3 separate regions of the Homo sapiens genome follow, and all the other regions are linked to region 1. The links are contacts of gene promoters, found by promoter capture Hi-C in blood cells and fetal thymus (Javierre and others, 2016). All regions are on one chromosome and are shown on one strand. Each heading gives the region's core, a stretch centred on a gene start or on the middle of the fragment in contact. The rest is flanking DNA. Distances are from core to core; before and after follow the strand shown.

Evidence for each region. The method cuts DNA at HindIII sites, captures the fragments that hold promoters and counts their contacts. A CHiCAGO score of 5 or more calls a contact.
Region 2: a contact is called between a fragment that was not itself captured here and the fragment with the promoter of CALHM5 in region 1, in 3 of 17 cell types (total B cells, naive B cells and M0 macrophages). The highest score is 7.7, in total B cells.
Region 3: a contact is called between a fragment that was not itself captured here and the fragment with the promoter of CALHM5 in region 1, in 4 of 17 cell types (naive B cells, total B cells, neutrophils and 1 more). The highest score is 10.4, in naive B cells.

Annotation. Positions count from the first base shown.
Region 1 is chr6:116,509,839-116,514,741 of GRCh38, reverse strand. CALHM5 (calcium homeostasis modulator family member 5) reads right to left here and starts at 3,103. Exons shown (of 2, transcript NM_153711.5): 1 at 2,506-3,103. The coding sequence starts at 3,045. The region is part of intron 3 of TRAPPC3L (trafficking protein particle complex subunit 3L); the gene reads left to right. RefSeq lists an enhancer at 2,811-3,392. The HindIII fragment of the contact is 2,544 bases long and covers 2,353-4,896 here.
Region 2 is chr6:116,398,098-116,403,000 of GRCh38, reverse strand. It overlaps DSE (dermatan sulfate epimerase), which reads right to left. Exons shown (of 6, transcript NM_013352.4): 2 at 3,335-3,803. The coding sequence starts at 3,750. Among named protein-coding and RNA genes, the nearest start is that of DSE, 30 kb to the right of the region's middle. RefSeq lists enhancers at 3,049-3,549, 3,550-4,050. The HindIII fragment of the contact is 167 bases long and covers 2,255-2,421 here.
Region 3 is chr6:116,418,848-116,423,750 of GRCh38, reverse strand. The region is part of intron 2 of DSE (dermatan sulfate epimerase); the gene reads right to left. Among named protein-coding and RNA genes, the nearest start is that of CALHM6, 40 kb to the left of the region's middle. The HindIII fragment of the contact is 3,535 bases long and covers 492-4,026 here.

The sequences.
Region 1 (4,903 bases), core at 1,854-4,353:
CACAAATAAGCTTTAAATCAGTGGTTCCCAACCTTTGACTCAGATATAGAGTGTTTGTGAAGGGTCTCAACCTCTGCACCAATGCCAACTCTGGACTGGCACTACTCAGGTTTAAATCTAAACTTTCCCCTTACTATGCGTATTCTTTTTATCTCAGTTTCTTCACTTGTGAAACGAGGGTTACTCACCTTGAAGGGTAATTTGATGGACCTAATGAAATGATACTGGACACATGTATTCATTAAGTTTTAGCTAATATTATATGCTGCTATTCTTCAAATATATATACACTTATGTAAATGTGTTACTGAACTCATAATATCTTTCTGTACTTATAATTAATGAGTGAGGCACAACTACCATCAAGTGAAAGTCCCTGAATGGATTGTGGTTGGCTACCTTATATGTTCCTCCTTCCTTCATCGTCTGTCTTCCTCTTTTTCCACAGCTGAGGCTTCTGTACGCCATCTCATCTCAGTACCTGAGCCAGTTCCAGCTGAATTATAAACTATTCCATCAGCTTCAGGTCCCCTTCCCCCTTTCACATGACGTTTGCATTGACCGATGCTTTCCCTCAATTCACAGTACCCAGAGTCAAACTAGAGCTTGGTGGATGCTTCCATACCAGCCCTCAAAAGTGTCTTATTTTGCATATGTCCTCCCCCAAACCATGGCAGTTTTCCTCATTGACTTGGAACAAATACTGTGTACCAGAAGCTTTATGCCCATTTGTATCTATCATCTCTAAATCTTCCGACAACTCTCCAAAGTAAGTGATATTACCACTAACTATGAGAAAACTGGGACTCAAAGAGGTCGAACCACTAGTTCTAGGTCACATAGCTGGTGATTGGTAGCATCAGCATACAAACCCAACGCCAGACAATTCCAAGACTGAGCTCTTTCCACTACTCCATTCTATCTTCCTTAAGAATAGAGAGTCATCCAGCTAGATTTTTTATCTGCCCCACCCATGGATGAATGTTCTTTTCCGCCTCCAGGCACATGTACACCTATTGTTGGTCTGGACTATATGCTGCCTCCTGCCTATCTGAACCTCTGTAGTCAGCACCTGCTATTGATACAAGTTCTCTTGCCCACATTCCTTATGCATCTTCCCACAGGAATCAGCCCCAGGTCCTTCTCATTCTGATGAAGAATCAGCAGGTCAGTGTGCTCAGCCTAAGCTATGACATGATGTGCAAGATTTCCTTGTACCTGTGTTTAGAGAGGAGAAGCTCACACAATGATAAGTGTTTGGGCCTGCCACTGACTGAATGGAGCCTGGTGACTGAGGACATACACCATAAATCAATCATTCTGTCATAAGAGTTGTAAGTTATACCCTTCTTCAATAAAAGACACAAGACATTTGGGAGCCTGATATGTTTTATCTAAGATGTGCTTTATGCATTAAAGAAAAGATTTTGTTTTGGAGTATTTTTTGACTTATCAATTTATGAAGAGTATGACTTTACTGCCAACCAGCTTTGGAGTGTATGATTTTAAAAACAGATTTTGCCTTGATTTGTTGTTACCAAGGCAAATCCTTGTCGAAAAAGTAAAATAATGCTATTTCTGTGCCTTTATTCTGAAACAGATAGCATTCCTGACAATTTGTGGATCTGCTTATCAACTCTTACCACTTGTTTTGCTTTTGGGAATGCAATTCTTACTACCTATAAATGGGAAGTTAGTCCTTCCTAAGGCTGTACATCTGGATTTGTGTTCATGTGCCTGGAGGAATGACAGGCTACTTCCCTGCATCAATTAGGTAAAGATATGATTTCCTTCTGTTAAATAAAACAATGCCCAAATCTTGAGCTTCTGAAGTAATTAAGAACCCCTTTAGCTGTACAGCACAAAGAGTATAAAACATAATCTCCCTAGAGAGTACAGTCACTTTTTCACAGAAGGCTATTTAAAAACTGCTGATTCCTACCATACAAGGAAAATTCTTCTCAATCTTGACAATATTTATACACAGAGATAGCAGTTGCCAGAAATCATTCAAGAGAATCTCCACACTAATTATATTACATGCAACTTTGAAAAGTAATAACTCATTTCATTCAGCTACATTTTAATAGATGAATAATACATGTGTGTGTTTGAGAAAACAACTTGAATGTAAATAATTGATAGAAGGCAGTAATTTCTAATTACAGCTCTGCCATTAACACTCAATTTATGATTTAGTGTTAGGCATTATTTATTTACAGACCCAGAGAGACTGTTTTAAAGTACTTAAGTATTTATATGTGGACAATCCAGTGGATATTTTCTTTTCAGAACCGGAAAAGAGATAATCCAGTCAGCAACTTTATTGAGCCACCCAGCCTTTCAAAAGCTTTTCCTGAGATAGTCTCAATGCTGCATCATGTTTCAGTTTCCATTTAGTTTCAAAATATTCTGACAGGACACAGACAGCCCTGGCTGAAAGGAGCACAGAGAGAATACTTCGAGCTCATGCTGAGAGAAAAAGGCGAGTTTGTCTTTTCTTACCTGAGACTGGGCCTGAAGGGAGAGTTTCAGTTCTTCATTGACGGTAGGTAGCATGCTAGTTTTGCCACAAGATACTTTGTGAAGTTCTTCCCAGCACTCTTTGGGCTTACCCTTGCAAATCAGTTCCAGGAGTCCTGAACTTCTCGTCCCGCTCATGGCACATTCATAGAAAGTTCCATTGAGCAGAGCCACAGAAAGCCACATCACTGGAGCCACCAATGAGCTCAGAGTGATCTGGCCGAGGACGTAGAAGAAACGGCAGCTGTGGCCTCTGGGAAAGATTTTCCTGGGATTCACACAGCAGCCTGTGAAGAGTCTCCACGACCTATTGTTCAGAAAGAATCCCAGGATCAGTAACACCCAGGCAGGAGCAAAGAGGAAAACCAGCCCATAGGTCATATTCTCAGTGCTGCAGGGGCACTTAAAAGCCACAACAGAAAAGAGACGCTCACTTCCCACGGTCAGCAGAGCCATGAAGCTGTAGCCAATAACAGTTTTCTGATTAAGGAAGAATTTTAAAATGCCCTGAAAAGCATCCATGTTGGAGATGCACAGAGGGAAAATGCTGTGCCTTTGTTATTGGCAGAGCAGCTGTGGCAGTGGCCGAGGGTGGAGCTCTTTCTTCATCAGAAACAACAGTCCTTCTCAGACTGAATTGAGCCAGATAAGGAAACAATGTCATTCCTTAGGAATGAATATTTCTCAACATGTTTAGATAATGCCTCCTACTGGTGGAAATTGGGCTGTGATACTGCAGCCTAAATGCTGAGAATAAATTCAAAGTGCACGGGCTCCATTTTAACCTTCTTTCCATGTGGTTTGGATTGAAAATCAGAAAAGAAATTCTCACTCATACAAATAATAGTCTAGGAATTTTCCAGTGTAAGGAATCAACATTAACAGAAAGAGGTTTCAGCCGACAAATCAAATCTCCAAACCTAGAATTTTATGAATGTTTTTCTCTTCCTATGACTTGAGATTTGGAAGACAGGGATTTGCTGTCTTTTTTCATATATATAAAAACATATGAAAATTATATATATATATATATATCAATAGCTTTTGGAGCACAAGTGGGTTTTGGTTACATGGATGAAATATACATATAAATATACATATATATATATATACATATATATATGAGATTTTAGTGCACCCATCACCGGATATGTATGTGTACCCAATATGTATTTTTTTATCCCTCACCCCCTTCCCACTCTCCCTCTTTCTGAGTCTCCAAAGTCCATTATACCACTCCATATGCCTTTACGTACCCATAGCTTAATTTCCACTTATAAGTGAGAACTACAGTTTTTGGTTTTCTATTTCCGAGTTACTTCGCTTGGAATAACGCCTCTAGCTCCATCAAGTTGCTGCAAAAGACATTATTTCATTCTTTTTTATGACTGAGTAGTATTCCATGGTATATATACACCACAGTTTCTTTATCTATTCATCAGTTGATGGGTACTTAGATTGGTTTCATATCTTTGCAATTGTGAATTGTGTTGCAATAAATATACATGTGCAGGTGTTTTTTTTTAATATATAATGACTTCTTTTTCTTTGGATAGATACCCAGTAGTGGGATTGCTGGACTGAATAGTAGATCTACTTTTAGTACTTAAAGTTCTTTCTTTAAGAATGAAAGAAAGGTGCCGTGGTTCATGTCTGTAATCCTAGCATTTTGGGAGGTCGAGGCAGGTGGATTGCTTGAGCCAAGGAGTACGAGACCAGCCTAGGCAACATGGTGAATCTCCCTCTCTACAAAAAAATACCAAAAAAAAATTAGCCAGGCTCGGTGGCATGCACCTGTAGTCCCAGCTACTCAGGAGGCAGAGATGGGAGGATCGCTTGAGCCCAGGAGGCTGAGGTTGTGGTGAGCCAAATCATGCCACTGCATTCCAGTCTGGGTGACAGAGCAAGACCCTGTCTCATAAATAAATACATAGAAGGAAAGAAAGAAATCTCCATACTGTTTTTTATAGAGGTTGTACTAATTTACATTCCTACCAGCATTCTACAAGCATTCTGTTTTCACAAAATTCATACCAATATCTATTGTTATTGCCTTTTTAGTAATAGCCATTATTACTGGAATAAGGTGGTATCTCATTGTGGTTTTAGTTTACATTTCCCTAATGATTAGTATGTTGAGCATTTTTTCATATGTTTGTTGTCCATTTGTATATCTTCTTTTGAGAAATGTCTATTGATGTCATTTGCTCACTTTTTGATGGGATTATTTGTTTTCTTCTTGCTGATTTGTTTGAGTTCCTTATAGATACTGGATATTAGTCCTTTGTCAGATGCATAGTTTACAAATATCTTCTCCCATTTTGTGGGTTGCCTGTTTACTCTGATGTTTATTTCTTTTGCTGTGCAGAAGCTTTTTAGT
Region 2 (4,903 bases), core at 1,089-3,588, 110 kb after region 1:
AATATTTTCCCTTTAACGTTTCTGCTTCAGAATTCTTAAGTGAATCTATAGAGGTGAACTTTAACCTCTTTATTTACTATTCAAATGAAATGAACCCCATTAATAAATTTGTATGCATGTATATCTCATAGGCACTTCTTTTTAATACCAGACAAATGACACATCATTGTTACTTTCCACTAAACCTTCTTCATTGGTGTTAACATTAGATTCTTGTATACATTTTAAAAAGGGCCCAGGGGAGCATCAATGAACGTTTTAATGGAAAAAGCCAAGGGGAAAATTTTATGAGTTAAACAGATGTTCTAGTTTTGAGAGCAATTAAGATTAGTAAAATCCTAAATGGATACTATTTCCTTGGAGCCTACATATACCAAATTATAAACCAAACAGGGTCTAATTACTAGGTAGGTAAAAGAACAGCATCAATAATTACCATTATTGTCATTATTCTCATTTACTGAGGGCTTACTATGAGACAAGAACTGTGCTAAGTACTTTACATTGATTATTGCACTTAATCTTCCTAGCAACCCTATAAGGTAGATAGGGTTGTTACTGCCACATTATACATCAGGACACTAATGCTCACGCAAATTAAGAAAATTAATCTGGAAAGTTAATTAAGAAAATTAACATAGCTGAAGAGTGAGGGAGCTGGGATTCAAAGGCAGTGTGACTCCAGAGTTGGTGCTTTTCTACCACACTAGGGTGCAGCATGATACAAATGTTTAAGTCATGAATGAAAACTAAGGAAACTCCTTATGAAATGATCCACACACTCAATTCTGAGCAGAGAAAATATCCTTAGCTTAGGCTTTAAGAACCCAATGTTTGTACCCTTTGCCATAGGTAAAAATTATAAAATTACTGGGCTATTTCTTCAACTTTGAATCCCCAGCACCCTAGCACAGTGCATGATACACAGTAGATGCTCAATAAACGTTTGTTGATCAAATGAATCAGTGAATGAACATAACTTAGTAACTGGCTTTCAAAAGAGTAAAAATGCTCTTCAAAGAAAATGGAAAATGCATTCAGCCTGATGAAGCTATTGTAGAAAGTTTTTTTTTTTTTACTTTCATAATATCAATTATTGATCTCTTTTGTAAGTAACAGCTAGTTTTTTGTTTTTGTTTTTTCTGAAATCAAATATAGGTGAATTATATCCTAAGTCAATGACAATACTCATTGTGTACTTCTTGGTACATAGTGAGAATATGATTTAATGGAGCAATTGAAACAGAGGTAGTTGAACTGTAAAATCACTGAACATTGTTTTAAATTATTACAGCACATAATTGTGTTGTAATTGTGTTCAACCACAAATCTAAATGAAAGTTTAAAAGTCTAAGGGTTGGGTGTGGTAGTTTTTAAGAAGTTAAAATTTCTGTGAAGTTATTAAACAACACAACTTAATAATAGTACCTGCCAAAACAAAATGTTCAAGTAGCTCAACTTTCTAAGCCAAGTTCACTTTTGCAACTAGAAACCAGATGTAAAGGTAAATTCTCAAGATTTTACCTTGAAGGTCAAGAGAAAGAAGTCAACTGTTCAGCTCTATTAAGTCAAAAATTGGCTTTTAGTTTACTAGATAATGGCCTAGAGTTATACCTATTTCTATCAATATTGCCATGAATAAAGTACTAGACCCCTAGTAAGTTTCTATACACCTCCAGTGATCAATAAATCTGGACTTGTGGAAACTATGTAAAAATTATAATATTTCTTTCAAGTTATTTATTTCTCTTTTCATAGAAGGAGTCTCATCCTAATGGCAGCATTCATTCATTGGTATTTATATACCCAAATATTTTACATTATAATGAGAAAACTGTACTAGTCTTGTACAATTCTCATGTTACTGTATTGTGCTAAACAATCTCCATCAAAAATGGTATTTCACAGTCCATTACTTTCTTGTGAGATTAAATACACGGTTCTCTACAGGCTCTATCTCTGGAACATTTACATCAATTTCTTAATTTGCCAAAATCTACTTATCTAAAACAAAAAGGACTTTAAAGTACCCTTCTAGATGACAAAGGTTTCTTTCTAAATAATGTAAATATGGTTGCTATTTTAAACTAATTGAACAAATCAATCAGTGAGTTACTGTAGCATTTGATAATGTAATCTGGTAATTCAAATATCAGATAAGTTTTCATACATCTTTTCTTTCTTGGTGTCAAGAATAGAATAAGATCAGTTAATGTCAGTCAAAGTCAGAAACAACTACATACATGGCTAAGCTTTGAAATAAATCAAATAAAAAATTCTTTTCAACCTACAATATTATAAACTTCAAAATGACTACATGTACTTAGCAACAGGCCTAAAATATCAGCTCTGATATGGATTTAATGCCAACTCTTGCATAATACTTTTCATTACAAAATTCCAGAAATTTATCGGAAAGCTTGCAAACCACCATCCTTCACCCCTGTGATATGTTAAGATGTAATTCATCATAGCATTAGGTGCATTCACTGATTTTTTTCTAAGCATTTAAAATGAGCTCTCTCTAGCCCTATGACAAGAGGCAGCTTATGTAATTTTTTAAAAAAATTTCATCAATCTGTAAATTCTTTTATTGCAATTGAACCATAAATGTGTATTTAAAAATTGCATGAGTAAAAACATCTGTAGAATCCCTTGTTTAATCAACTCATCCCATATCTGTTTGGAAGCATATGAAGCATTAATTATAAATTAATCAAATAAATTTAAGCTAATCGAAAAGACAGGAATTTGTTCTCAAATCTTAAACTTCGAAACTAAATTATTATGTAGTTAGAATTCCTCACACAATTACACAATAATGTTGGTTTTCCTACAGGTCTCAGAAATCTGCTGGTTATTGGAGGGGATGTGTTTATAAATTGCCAGTCAGTCCCATCCCATTCACATTTAGTTCCTTACGATCATAAAATGCAAGTAAGTCTTAATTACTTGAAATGTCTTGCTGCAAAATGTTTTAACTACTTGGGATCAATCAAACCTAACACCAGATGATAGTAATATATACATGCTGAATATGGAAGAAAGAATTCTCAGCAATCACGATGATACTCTTTACTCAATTCAGCAAATTATTTTTTCTTTAGATTAGGCTGCATCTAAATATTTTCCTTCTAACTTTAAACATGGAAGTTACTACATCTTTTGAAACTAAGGGCCATTCATAAGACTGGCAACACAAATAACAAATAACACCTCCCCCCACACACATACACAAAGAGGTACATGAAGATCTGGCCACTGAGATGTCATATGGATTTGTTTCTTTCTAATGCAGAGTTACCACAGTAAGAAGAACAAGACAAAAATCTACCAACTAGGCTGCGCTGCCATCCTCTCCATGTAGTCTTTGGCCATGTCTCGGGCTTCAATGTTCTCAGGATACAGCACACAGAACATTGCCAAGGCACCCAAGTTGTTTCCAAAAATTTCATTCCAGCGGGCACTGTAGTCCTTGGGATCCCAGGGAGGGAGGTATTCCAAGGGGCTGGACAGCATCGTGTGCACAGCCTCCGTGAGGCGGGCTGCAATGTGCTCGTGCGAGCTGGCAGCCCTGAGCTGCAGCTCCGCCACTTCTGCCCTGGAGAAGTACAGCATGGGATGGCTGTCGTAGTTGGCATTGGTGAAGGGAATCATAACTTCTGGGTTCTCGTCGGTGATGTAGGCTGACACAAAGCAAAGCAAATATATGAAAAACACACTGGGAGCCCCCCGTGTGTGAGTCCTCATCGTGGCATCAGATCTCCAAATCTCCAAGGCAGCCAAACCATCTTCGAAAGATCCTACGTGAGATAAAAAGGAAAAAAAGTGTCTGTCAGCCAAGGGAACATGGCACAGGTGTGGAAACATATAAGAGGTAGAAACCATATGTGAAAATAAAGCTTATGAATTTAGATTTTTAAAAATACAACAAAAAAATTTAATTAGGAAGAAAATTACTAAAGTTCTGATTTTATAGAGTTAAACATACTACATCAGAATTGTATTCATTATGGAAAACAGAATTTTGGACTAAGGGAAAATGTATAATATTTGTTCAAGTAAGGAAAAAATTATTCTTGGTATTCTTCTCACATAGTATCATGCAAAAAACATCACATGGTATATTTTTTTAGACATTAATACATAAACCACAATAACCAAAAGCTGGTAATGAACAATCATCTGGGAATCTGAGTAGACATTACAAAAAACCAGAAAATCCTGTATTTCTTACTACAGCCTCTTTCACTGTAACTTATCTCCTTTTCCTAACATTTCTGAACCAGGGATTAGGATCAATACATCTGTAAGCAGACAAAATATTATGAATAAGGTTAAATATCCTCTTTATGTGAGCAGAAGGTGGAAAGAGAGAAGACAAAGGCCATGTAAACATCTGCCAAGCCCGTGTATTTCCTGGGCTGACATCAGCAAGCATGTAGTGAAGACCAAACACAGTGCCACTGGGACCAGAAACTGACATGCCTTCATTCAGAGAATAAAATCCCAGAATTAAAAGGCTGAAATAACACGGGTGCATTTTCCCCTTATTATCTGAAACTACTGTCTACTTTTTCATTTGGCATATGGGATTTTGGTGTCATTCAGTAAGTGAGAAATGTAAACAAAGTTCACATATTTTCTTAACTACTTGATTTTTCTTCAAAGCCCCTTTTTTCAGTGGCAGATTTGTGCACTGGTTAAAAGAACATCTTTCAAATGTAGAAACACTAAAAAAAATAAAATAAAATCCCCAAAACCTCAGCCTAGTCAATGTCCCACATCTGGGATAAAGCAGGCAGAAAATCCCTCAGAGGAAAGTCAGGGAATTCTTAAAATTCTTAAGAGGGGAAAGGTTATAGAAAGCAGACCAGAAAAAGACAGTTTTATGTAAATAACG
Region 3 (4,903 bases), core at 1,010-3,509, 90 kb after region 1:
ATAATGGAAGAGACTATATTTTACAGTCATAAAAACCAATGGAAATTTGCTCTTAGTTCATGGATGGCAGCTGAGAAACTATCTTATTCAATGTGATCCTGACCAGTAATAAATCAGTTCACTGTGAATGGTGGTGAAGTGGGAAATTATTTTTTAAAAAAACAGACAGACATTAATTTATGAATTGTGCTTCAACTTAAAATATATCCATGTGTACACAGATTCACCAATCTTTTGAAGGTGAGCCAAAACCTATTCTCTGAATATGGGTCTACAGATGGAGTTTCATTGTTCTTTCCTGCAAAGAACACACATAACACATCACCACAATTTCCAGCTTTGTTTTCTTTATTATATAGGAAGAAATTAAAGATACCTGTGAGGGAACGCAGAAGCCTTCTAGATTTTTATGAGTTTTTCCCTAATCTTCTACAAATCTCAATCACACTATATCATGACAGCAATTTTTTACAGTAAGTTATTCCAAAGCTTTTAGGTTGGTTCTAGAAATATTAGCTTTTTCTTTTTGAACTCACACTTTATCTATTGGTATTATTAAAACTGTCTCATTACAGGTATTAGGGAAACTGTATTACCTGGTTTGAGAACAAATACAGCTGACACTTGCTCAGCCGGTAACTCTACTGGGGGGAAAAGAAATAAATGTAAAGTAAAGGGCAACCTACAAGTCCTGACATTCAGCTACTGTGTTACACAAGGAATGGAAGCTGGGTTCACTGGCAAGTTAGTTAAGAGGAGGTTAACTGAGGAAATATTTACACTATTCCTCTTTTGTAAACTACAGTTTCACCCCTTAGAGCAGCTGTTCTCAAAGTAAGGCCCAGGGAGGGGCTTCCGAGACTATTACATTTTAGAGAATTCACAAATAAGAATCATTTTCATAATAACGTAAAGATGTTATATGTTGATATTTGCACTGATGGTACAAAAGCAGTATTAAGTAAAACTGCTGTAACCTTAGCAAGAATCCAAGCAGGGGCACTAAACTGCCCTAGTAGTCCTTGTATGATTTTGCACTGCCATGCACTCAGGTTTTTGTTGTTGTTGTTGTTTAATTTTTAAAGCCAATTTTATTTAAAAATGTCCTTGATGAAGTGGTAAAAGTGATTAATCTTTATAAAATCTCAACTCTTTGAGTATACATCTTTCTAATATCCTATGTGATTAAACGGAGTACCAAAGTACAAGAACGTTACAAACAAAAGAAGTCATGCACTGAGTTGAGAGCTGAGCTAGCTCGGTTTTTTCATGAAACATTTTTACATGACAGAATGATCAACTGACAAATTATAGTTATCTCAATTTGGGTGTTAGCACAGAAATATTCTTGAAAATAAACAAGGAAGGCCTGCCAGTTCAAGGAAAGCTGAAAGCCTTTGTTGCCAATGACAAACTTGGAGCTTTCAACTGGAAATAAGAATTTTGGAAAATTTGCATCCACTACCAAGAGCTTAAGAGCTTACCAATACTTAAAGATTTTTCTGATGAAATCAGTAAGAACATCAACAAACATGATTTTTATATTGTATAATTAAATGTGTCAACATTCGGTAGACTGAAATAACTCAGTGAACACACATGCAAAATAACAAAGGCATGATGTTATAAAACCATGCACCGATAAGACAGCCACTCCTAAGTGTAAAATATGCCAATGGATTTTAATGTAAAAGAGTATGAAGAGTTCATTAACATGGCTTCAGATTCTATACTGAAATTAATTTTTATGGAACCACTATCAGTCAAGTTTTAGTGTAGCGTCAAAGAAGAATATTCACAATTATTTGAAAAGATTATTAAAATACTCCTCCCTTGTCAATCACATATTCCTGTGAGGCTGGATTTTCTTCACATACTTCAACCAAAAAAACACATAGCAACAAATCAAGTGCAGAAGCAGACACATAAGATTTGCAAAGATGTAAAACAACACCTTCCTTCTATTTTTTGTTTTAAAAAAATATAGTTTGGCTGGGTACAGTGGCTTATGCCTGTAATCCTAGTGCTTTAGGAGGCCAAGGTAGGAGGATTGCCTGAGCCCAGGAGTTCCACATAGCAAAACTGTCTGTACACAAAATAATTTTTTAAAAATTAGCTGGGCCTGGTGGCATGCACCTGAAGTCCCAGCTTAGGAGGCTGAGGCAGCAAGATTGCTGGAGCCCAGAAGTTCAAAGCTGCAGTGAGCTATGACTGCACCACTGCACTCCAGGCTGGGTGACACAGTGAGACCCTGTACCTAAAAAAAAAAAAAAAAAAAAAAAAAAAATATATATATATATATATATATGTATATATAGTTATTTTTTCCTAAAATATGTTTATGTTAATATGAAATGAGCTTTGACAATATATAAATATGAGTAAATGAACAAATAAATGTTTCAAACTTCTCAGTTTTAATTTCTAATATGGTAAACTTTGATAGATACAGCCCAAATAAACAAAGCTGTTTGATGTCCTCATTAATTTTTAAGAGTACAAAGTGCTTCCAAGTCCAAAAAGTTTAAAAACTGATACTTTGAATATTTTCAAAGGTGAATTTATATGAAATAAATTAATCTGAACACAGGAAAGAGCTATTGATTTTCTGAGTGTAAGGGTGGAATGTTGGTGGGGAAAGGCATAGAGTTTGGTCATGATGTGCTGTGTCTATGAATTAAGTTGTGATTCTGAAAGGAAGAATGAGCCATAACTATTTTTCCAAAGTTGAGCAGTCTCATTAATCCAAATTTTTGTACCAATTTTAAAGGGATAGACTGCTTCTATTATCATAAATGCTTTTTAAAATATTATGTATGGAGTATAATAGTTGGCAATCGAAGAAGTCTGTATCACTAAAAAGGTGACAGTTTATTTGATTAAATAACCATTAAAAGGAACCCTAAAAACAATGTTGCTATCTATTTTTATTGGTATAGATTTGAACTGCAAGTGATTAAATGCTTCTATTTTTAAAATTTTCATATAGTTTTGATATAGACAGTCTATAGAAAATAACTGCCTGTGAAAAGATTAAAATTTAACATTGCAAGGTTCACAGAATATTATTTAAATTTGTATACTGTTGTCTTAGCCCAGGCTGCCATAACAAAATGCCATAGACTGGGTAGCTTAAACAACAGAAATTTATTTTTTACAAGTTCTGGAAGCTGAAGGTCTGACATCAGGGTGCCCGCATGGTCAGGTTTTGGTGAGAGCTCTGTTCCTGGCTTTTAGAAGGCCGCCGCCATCTTACTGTGTGCTCACCTGGCCTGTCCTAGATGTATGGTGTGGGGATAAGGCAAGCGTGAGAGAGAGTGCACAAGAGTACAAGCTCTCTGGCACCGCTTCTTATCAGGGCACTTATCCTATCATGAGAGCCCCACCTTTAGGACCTCCATCTAAATCTAATTCTCTCCTATAGGCCCTTTTCTCTAAATACTTCCACATAAGGGGTTAGGGCTTCAATATAAATTTTGAGGAGGGTCCCATTCAGTTCATAGCAACTGTCTATTTAATTTACACAAATACTGCTAAAATAAACACTTACAATAAAAAGAAATTAGGTCTTTGAAAACAAAGATGTGCCAAGAGATCACTCATACTTATTTAAATTAATCAACAGTATACAAGAAACAAATACTAGAAACAATAGAACTCATAATTCCCTTTATAATTAATCCTATTTCCTAGTACTTTTCAGAACCTAACAACTTTATAGCAGGCTTTTCCATATGTAGCTATGCTCCAAAGATCACAATTTGATCCACAGTATAGGCAAATCTACATATTTTTTAAAGTGTATTTAAATGAGACTTTATGATTTGTCAGACCTTTCCAACAAAGGAGGATAACTCCAATAAAATGATCCATCTTCTTTTTCTCATTTTCAGAATAACTATAGTTTTACCAACCTATAAAATATTTACTTCGTAAATTCATAAAGTAGAAGATTTGCGTTTAAAATCTGATTTTATACAGTAGATAGTTATGGAACTACAAATTTAAGTTAAAATGAAACAAGCTTTACAAAAATTATAAATTTACATTCAGAACACAACAGTGAACTCCTTAGAAATTGCAAACTCTAAAAGTACCAGGGTAGTGCACCACCAGCTTCCCATTTGCCAGCTTTGCTGCAGCTGTGTCTACTGTACATATGCCACACCTCTGTCCACGTGCACTTGGGCACACCATTAAAATAGGCCAGAATTAGGTCAACTCTATTTTAAAAATGTAAATTATTCTATTCATTCTAAAAGTCTCCTGAACACAGTAACTTGATAGAAAACCATTTAACTTTCAACCAAACACCTTTGTGTGTTTGGAAACAAACTCCAATAAGTTAAGACAGTCATGTATTACCACTCCTTTTAAAAACATGACTAATGCAGTAGTGATTCATCTTTTTTCCCTCCATTTTAAATGTGAAAACTAACCATGAATGTTAAATGTTAGTAATATGTTAAATTTGGTATGGAATTCCTATAAATGTAGCTAAAGGGAAGTGGATTTCTCACCTCTGAGGCCTCATCTGTAAAGCACATTGGGTCTTGGCAGACATCTGCCAAGAGGACCAGATTAAGCCTGAAAGATAGAGACTTGATCTAGGAGGCTCTGAGTGGGTAGTCAGCAGTCCAAGGGGAATGTTCAGCTAATCTCTGGCCTGGCTTGGCGTCCATATTCCAAGTGTTTGATCAGGTGGCTAAAGGTTAGCACTGGCATTGTGAAGCAAAATGCACAGGGAGGGAAAGGAGAGGGGAGTGTACTTCATATTAATTAAGCACATGTTATGTGCCCAAGCCTCTAAGTACATTGTGTCATTTCATCTTCTCAACTCAACATTAGGTATTCCGTCCCCATTTTATAGGTTGTGAAAAAGCAATTTGGATAGGAGATTACT